Linked DNA regions of Homo sapiens: region 2 is linked to region 1. Evidence: promoter capture Hi-C in human tissues and cell types (Jung and others, 2019). All regions are on one chromosome and are shown on one strand. The core of a region is centred on a gene start or on the middle of the fragment in contact, and the rest is flanking DNA. Distances in the headings are between cores, read along the strand shown.

Region 1 (3,922 bases), core at 833-3,332:
GATATATGAGATAGGCTCTTATGAAAATTTACATAATCTGTGTCAGTTCCTTGTAAGGAACTCATCAGCTGTGAGGAACTCAGCGTGGATCTGTTGGTGTTTGTCTTGGGAGAGGAATACATTGCCATTTTAAGGGAGAGGATGTTAACATCAGCCAAACAAAATCAAATCCAAACTTCAGCGTGGATATTCTTCTGTCAACTCCTCCCCTCCTTGGTTCTTAACTGATATCCTTTATTTGCTGTTTTGGTAACTCTTGAACCCCATCCTCTCCACTCCCTCCCGGTCTTGGTTCCATCATTTCTTCCTTTTCTGATATCTCTTTTTAGCTTTTTTGAAAAAAAAAATTAATTATAGTACAAAACATAAAATGTACCCTTAACCATTTTTAAGTGTTCACTCATATTAGGTATATATATATTGATGTGTAACAGAGCTTTATAACTTTTTCATTTAGCAAAACTCAAGCTCTGTACCCATTAAACAACAGCTCCCCACTCCCGCTCTTCCTAACCCCTGACAACCACCATTCGACTTTTTATGTAATTTTGACAACTCTAGATACCTTATATTAGTGAAAAATCATACAGCGTATTGGTCATTTTGTGACTAGTTTATTTCACTTAGCAGTGTCGTCTTCAAGGTTCATTCTAGTTGTAGCATGTGATCCTTAAAAGGATCAGTTTAAATCTTTAAAAGGATTTCCTTCCCGTTAAGGCTTAATAGCATTCCATTGTGTGTGTGTATCGCATTTTGTTTGTCCATTCATCCATCCATGGACACTTGGGTTGTTTACACCTCTTGGCTTTTGCAAATAATTCTGCAGTGAACATGGGAGTGCACATACCTCTTTGAGATCCGGATTTCAATTCTTTTGGTTACATACTCAGGCATGGGATTGCAGGAAGACTGTCATCTCTCTCATCTTACTCAACAGGCTGCTTCTCCCCAGTGTACATACAGACTTGAGTCTTTCTTATCTCTTTTTTCCTAAAAGAACAAAAAAATTTATTTAAATGTGAGAATTATGGGAAACCTAAGCCATGGGAATTGGACACTCATGGGGGTCTTCTGTGAAATGGGACTTGCCCCCACCTTCTGCAGCCTGAAGCTTTTGCAGTTTCGCCATCAGTTCTTTGGCGGGGTTAAAGATGCCGCCGGTTGGCTGGTCACAGATGTAGCAGCGCGGGGTGGCCCGGAAGTGCTCCAGCGCGCAGCTCTCGCAGAAATAATGCCTGCACTTGGTGACGACTGGGTTTTGGAAGGCCTGGCGACATATGAAACACCTGAATGGTATTTCCTCTTCCTCGCTTCCCACTTCATGGTTTTCGTCCTCGCAGATACAGTAGCGACCCTCTTCAAGCTCCCGTTCAATCTCCCACCCGAGCTTGTAATCGGAACGGTCGTGGAGGAATTTGCAGCTGTCCCCGAAGCCACAGAAGCCAGTCTCCTTGTAGTCCTTGCAGATGTCAGGCTGGTAATCCCAGCGCACAGTGGCGCGCAGATGCCCTGGCGCACGTATGGGGCCCTTCCTCGCCATCCCCGAGGAGGAGTTGCCCATGGACGTGTCCTTGGGCTTCAGGTACCTCAGGTAGCTGTGGATTCCCCGGTAGATGTGGTCGTGCTCCCGACCCCGCAGTGCCTCCTGGACCCGCTGGCTGCACTTGAGGATGGTCGGCGTATGGTGCTCCTTCTCGGTGTCCTGCTCGAAGTCAGCGGTGGCCCCCATGTCCTCTGGCCCCACAGGCTTCGCCGAGCGGGTGGACCTGTACACCACGTCGAGGCTCTCAGGCGCCGCCTCCTCGCCCCTCCTGTCGCCGTGAGCCGCCTTCTGCCAGCTGTGGAGGCCCCGGGGCCTCGGTGCCACCCGCGGGGGCTGAGCCACTGTGTCGCCCTCGTCCCCGCTGCTGCTGCTCTCTCCGTGCTCGGGGTCGCAGGCCGGGCGCTTTCTGAGGCCTGCAGCCCCTTTCCGTCCAGGCTTTTTGAAGAGGAAGGTGCATACCTGGTCTGCTTGGTCGGCCGTCCTTCCTGGAGAAGGTGGCGCTGCCATGTTTGAGTCTCAGGCTCCCAACGGCCGTGGCGTGCGTCACCCTTGCGTCGCCCTTGCGTCGCTGCACGTGGGGCGTGGGCCCTCCCAGTTCTAAAAAGCAAAAGCAAGTGAAAGAAAAGCTTCTGCTAGGCCAGGCGCGGTGACTCACTCTTGTAATCCCGGGACACTGGGAGGCCGAGGTGGGAGAATCACCCGAGGTCAGCAGTTTAAGACCAGCCTGGCCAACATAGCGAAACTCCATCCTTACTAAAAATACAAAAATTACCTGGGTGTGGTGGCGTGCGCCTGAAGTCCCAGCTACTAGGGAGGCTGAGGCAGAAGAATCGCTTGAACCCAGGAGGCAGAGGTTGTAGTGAGCCGAGATCACGCCACTGTACTCTAGCCTGGGTGACAGAGCGAGACCCTGTCTCAAATTAAAAAAAAAAAAACCAAAAAAAAAGGCTTCTCCCGCCCTTCCCTCCCTTGACCTGCCTCCTGGCCCTCAGATGGATTCCTTGAGAGAGTCATCTTCACTTGCTCCTCAGCTCCCTCAGTGCACACTCATTTTTCAACAGATTCCTAAAAGGCCACGGGTGGAATCATTCCAGGCCATAGCGAACCGGTGGTGCTCATCCTAAAACACAGGCGCTTGAAATGCGTATTTAAAAGCAACACACGCGCAGTGCAGAAAACAAAAACAGATACAAGCAAAAAGTAAGACGCCTATAATCCCTCCCCTCAAAGATAACCACTGTCAACACTTTTGTGTCTATTCTTTTAATATAGCCTTTATTAAAAGACTGTCATATCACACTGCACCTGTGGGTGTGTAGCTGGCTTTCATTTTGAAATAAAAGTAACACATGTAAACATTTAAAAAAATATTATCAAGCACTTATTGTAATGGAAATTGGCTGTCCCCTGCCTGGCCCCTCCACACGCCAATTCCTGGTACCTAAGATAATCATTTTTAATTTTTTTTTTTTTTTTTTTTTTTTGAGAAAGAGTCTCGCTCTGTCGCCCAGGCTGGAGTGCAGTTACATGATCCCGGCTCACTGCAACCTCTGCCTCCCGGGTTCAAGCAATTCTCCTGCCTCAGCCTCCTGAGTAGCTGGGATTACAGGTGTGTGCCACCACACCCAGCTAACTTCTGTGTTTTTAGTAGCGACAGGGTTTCACCATGTTGGCCAGGCTGGTGTGGAACTCCTGACCTCAGGTGATCCACCCACCTTGGCCTCCTAAAATGTTGGTATTACAGGCGTGAGCCACTGCACCCCGCCTTCAAATATTTTTAACCCTTTTTTTTCTTGAGTTTATCTTCAAGTTGTGAAATAATTCATTTATATAATGTAAATGGATTCTAGTTCTTATTTAGCCAGTGCATGTCATAAAGTGTTACATGCAATTTCTTTTTCTAATTTAGGTTCTATCTCTTTACTTACTAGAATGGAAGATGAGATTCAGCTCACTTGTAGTGCCCCCAAAACACTGGCTGCTGTGGGATGAGGGAGAAGTTGTGTGGGTCTCTCTTCCTAGACACCAAGGCATCCTCAGCTGTTGGAAATGTGATGAATAAGCTTACAGTGTAAAGAACAATTCATCATTTGTCAGTTTTCTCTTAGGATAGTAATTCTAGATTTTTCTTCAACTGTTATCATCCCATCTTTCATGTTGGAAGCTTTTCTAAAATACTTGGTTATCTCCAGCTGTTTATACTTCAGAGTGAGGTGCCTAAAAGCTGGCTGGAATCCATCGGTATTGTTGGGCTTGTACACTGGACTGTCCTTTGTGTGATTCAGTTGGAACCCATCTTTTTTCTTGGAGACCCCCAGATGTTGGTGTCCATATTAGTCCGTTTTCACGCTGCTGATAAAGACACACCTGAGACTGGGT
Region 2 (3,922 bases), core at 658-3,157, 210 kb after region 1:
ATGGCAATTAGGCTTATAGTGTAGCTACAGTCTGGGTTCAGTAGGTTTTCATGGCCCGACCTGGGAAGCATATACCCATTTTAAATGGTTTTCCATGGAAAAATTCACTGGAGTTCCAAAAAGCTGCCTTATAGATAAAGAACTGCAGCACAGCTTGTTTGTAAGTTGGGTCCACCCAAAACTGTGAGATCCCCCAAAATAGTTAGAACTGCTGGGAATGCTAAGGACAGTAGTAACTTTTGTTTATATAATATGGCCACTTCAATTGGGAGCAGAAAATTTCTATATCCCCTTTCCAGAATCAAAGGGCATGATTTTTTTCAGCCAAGAGTGACACTTTGTGCTCCAGAAAAAAAAATTCATTTCCTGTGTAGTTCCTGGGGTGGCCTGGAGCCCGGAGCCGTGGGCGACTTCACAGAGAAACGACGTAAGAGCCAACATTGACACGAAGTATGAGGAAGAGGATGAACGTTGCGTTTCAGTGATTTTAAGGAGGCAGGAAGGGACTTTCAGTATCTGGGTTTTGTTTTTCAAGGAAATGTAAGCCAAATAAACATAATTTGTATATGAAATCTGTCAAAAAATGGTGTCACTTCCATTGAAGCCACGTGGCTGTTTCTGTTACCCGTCTAAGAGATTCTGTGGGGAAGAAAATGATGGACTAGGGACCACATCTTGTCCTTAAGAATAACTAGAGTTTAGTAAGTCTTTGCACTGATGGTCATGCTATAATAAAATACACAGCGAAAACTTTATCGGACAAAGCTATCTTCTGCCCCTTTTCTCCTATTTCAGTGGTGTATCTATGGGTAATGGAAAAAACCACCGTTGTATTTTCCCTTTTTAGAGTGCGTACCAGGATACCTTGGAATTCCTGATGGCCAGTCGGGATTTCTGCAAGTCCTTCTGGAAAATCTGTGTTGAACATCATGCCTTCTTTAGACTTTTTGAAGAGCCCAAACCAAAGCCCAAGCCCGTCCTCTTTAGCCGGGGGTCATCATTTCGGTTCAGGTGAGGTCGCCACTTTGTGCCTCTGTTTGCTGGGTGCACGTTTTTCCTCCCGCCTCTCACAGCCGCTGTGACACACAGCAGGTCAGGGAGGTGAACGCTCATTGGCCTCCAGGAGCTATGGCCAAGCGGGGGCGCTTGTATCTTAATCCCAGTGGGCTCTGTTTGAACAGCAGAGGCACCAGGCAAAGCCACCCAGTCATGGTAAACGCCTAGCGGGAGTCTCTAACTCAGAAAGGATTTCTCTCTCAGTAGAAGTACAGTGTCTTACTAACATTTGGTGTTGCTTCATAGAATATGTGGACTTGGATGTTATTGGTGAACTTTTCCATTCATTTTTAACAAATCATTGTCTGCCATGTGTCAAATACTGTTCCAGGCACTGAGCCCAGTGATCCCTGCCTTCACTAAAGGCACAGGCTCTTGGGATGGTTGCTTAGTAACCAAACACAGTTATCAAGTGGGCTTAGTTAATTGAACATTTTTTCTGTATATTCAAGGAAAATATCAAGAGACTGAGTGGACCCAAAAATACAGAGTCTGTCAGGATTGCTTTTAGTCCTGGCTAGCCAAGCAACCCTGCATCTCTCCCAGTTAGGGAAGGAGGGGAAGTGAAGCCCTGAAGCATCATTTGTGTGTTTAAATGAGAATGCCTTGGTATTTCTCCCCTTCCCTGTTGTGGTCTCTGTTTCAGTGGTCGGACTCAGAAGCAGGTTCTCGACTATGTTAAAGAAGGAGGACATAAGAAGGTGCAGTTTGAAAGGTAAGAGAAGCTTCAATGCTACTTCCAGTCTGAGAAGGCTCAGACTCGCCAGGTAACAGTTTGTTGCTGCTAAATATTTCTTTACCCAGACTTCAGACTTGATGTCCCTTGAGTTGTAAATGATAGTCTCAGTCATCCTCAGCAAGTCCAGTGTTAGAGAGGAAGGTTTTAGAGCCCAGGGGCACACCCTCGAGAGTGAGATGAGAACAGACAGAAAGGACTAGGGGAGGCGGGAGAGGACATACTGGGGAAGGAGAGAAGGGCTTAGGACATCACAGTGGGGGATGAAGCATGATAAAAACTAGCTCACTGGTGAGTCCTTCAATATTTTGGGATTTGTATTGAAAGCATGTCTATGAACATTTTAATTAAATCAAGTAAATCTGGATGAGCAGAAACAGGATTTTTTCTTTCTCAAAACAGGGTCTTGCTCTGTTGCCCAGGCTGGAGTGCAGTGGTGTGATCACAGCCCACTGCAGCCTCAGCCTCTGGGACTCGATCAATCCTCCCACCTCAGCCTCCTGAGTAGCTGGGACCACAGGTGCCCACCACCACTCCCAGCTAAATTTTTGTAGAGATGGGGTCTGCCTATGTTGCCAGGGCTGGTCTCAAACTCCTGGGCTCAAGCCATCTTCCCGCCTTGGCCTCCCAAAGTGCTGGGATTACAGGCAAGAGTCACCATGCCCAGCCAGAAACAGGATTTATTATTATTATTGTTGTTGGTGTTATCAAACACTTGTAGCCCTTAGTGTGTGCCAGGCTGTTCCGAGCACTGGGCCTGAGTGAACTCATTGAGTCTTCACCTCAGCTCTGTGAGGTCAGTGCTCTTTTATTCCCTTTATAAAGATGGAGATACTGAGTCCCCAGTAGGTTAAATAACTAGTCCAGGTCTCATAGCTGCTAAGCAGTTTCTGGCCAGCCAGCCAGCTCCCAAGCCCAATGCTCCAAGGAGGAGCAGCAGAACCCAAGGAGGGTAAAGGAGCGGAGGATAGGCCTCAAGAACTAGTTACTGCATGTAGCGTTTTTAAAAAACTTTTTTCATTTTCATACATTTAAAAATTACAATAAAGTACAGGGAAGTCAGCAAACACCCAGATTCCTACTACTTAGAATTAACGGCCATTAACAGTTGGACACATTTGTTTCTGGGGTTGTTTTTTCTTCTTTTATTTGCAGCTCTCGTTACAGACATGGTAAAACCCCCTTGAACCACCAGCTCTGGTAATTTCCCTTCTCCCCTCCCCAGAGGCAGCTGCCACATTTAGGCTCCTTTCTGTATGCATATTACTGCATCCCAAAAGAGTGTGTAGAATTGCTCTGGAGGCCGGGCACAATGGCACATGCCTGTAATCCCAGCACTTTGGGATGCCGAAGTGGGTGGATCACTTGAGCTCAGGAGTTTGAGACCAGCCTGGGTAACATGACGAAAGCTCATCTCTACCCAAAAAAAAAAAAAAAAAAAAAAAAAAATTAGCTGGATGTGGTGGTGCATGCCTGTGGTCCCAGCTACTTGGGAGGCTGAGGTAGGACGATTGCTTGAGCCTGGGAGGTCAAGGCTGCAGTGAGCCAAGATTGTGCCACTGCCCTCCATCTCTGGGCCACAGAGCGAGATCCTGTCCCAAAAAAAAAAAAGAGAAAAAAGAAAAACTGCTCTGAGTGTGTTCTTTTCATTCATATAAGTACTCCCATATATAATTCTGCATCTTGCTTTTTTAATACTACCTTTTTTTTGAGATCTGTTTTAAGGGCCATACAGTAGTATGAAGATACTACACTGTATTTCTCTGATTGCCTATTGAGAACCATCCAGATTATTTCAGTATTTTGTTTTGATTTTGCTGAAATAAACCTGCTTCTGTGGCCATCCCTGCATCTTCCTTCTACCACAAATCTGTGGTGCTTTCTCATGCCCTGTCTCTATAAATGTCATGTTCAGGAGGTTTTTTTCAGGAGGTTTTTTTTTTGGAGATGAATCCCATAATTTTCCTGGACAGTCAATGGTTAGTATTTGAAAACCATGTAAGAAATAGCCCAGTTCTCTCTCTGATTCAGAATGTGGATCTCTAGAGCTTTTCTGTGCTAACCTGGAGTATTTTGAAGAAGAGCTGGATGTGCCTGGGAATAGAATCTATATTTACACAGTCTCATGAA

Evidence for each region. Contacts are between HindIII fragments. The study calls those that stand out against the background at their distance.
Region 2: a fragment that was not itself captured here is called in contact with the fragment with the promoter of RNF113B in region 1 in 2 of the 25 tissues and cell types used here (IMR-90 fibroblasts and dorsolateral prefrontal cortex).

Annotation. Positions count from the first base shown.
Region 1 is chr13:98,175,187-98,179,108 of GRCh38, forward strand. RNF113B (ring finger protein 113B) reads right to left here and starts at 2,083. Exons shown (of 2, transcript NM_178861.5): 1 at 1,096-2,083; 2 at 599-990. The coding sequence starts at 2,050. The coding sequence ends at 977. All of the region lies in intron 1 of FARP1 (FERM, ARH/RhoGEF and pleckstrin domain protein 1), which reads left to right. The HindIII fragment of the contact is 2,632 bases long and covers 256-2,887 here.
Region 2 is chr13:98,389,110-98,393,031 of GRCh38, forward strand. It overlaps FARP1 (FERM, ARH/RhoGEF and pleckstrin domain protein 1), which reads left to right. Exons shown (of 27, transcript NM_005766.4): 10 at 848-1,011; 11 at 1,703-1,771. Among named protein-coding and RNA genes, the nearest start is that of FARP1-AS1, 45 kb to the right of the region's middle. The HindIII fragment of the contact is 3,357 bases long and covers 230-3,586 here.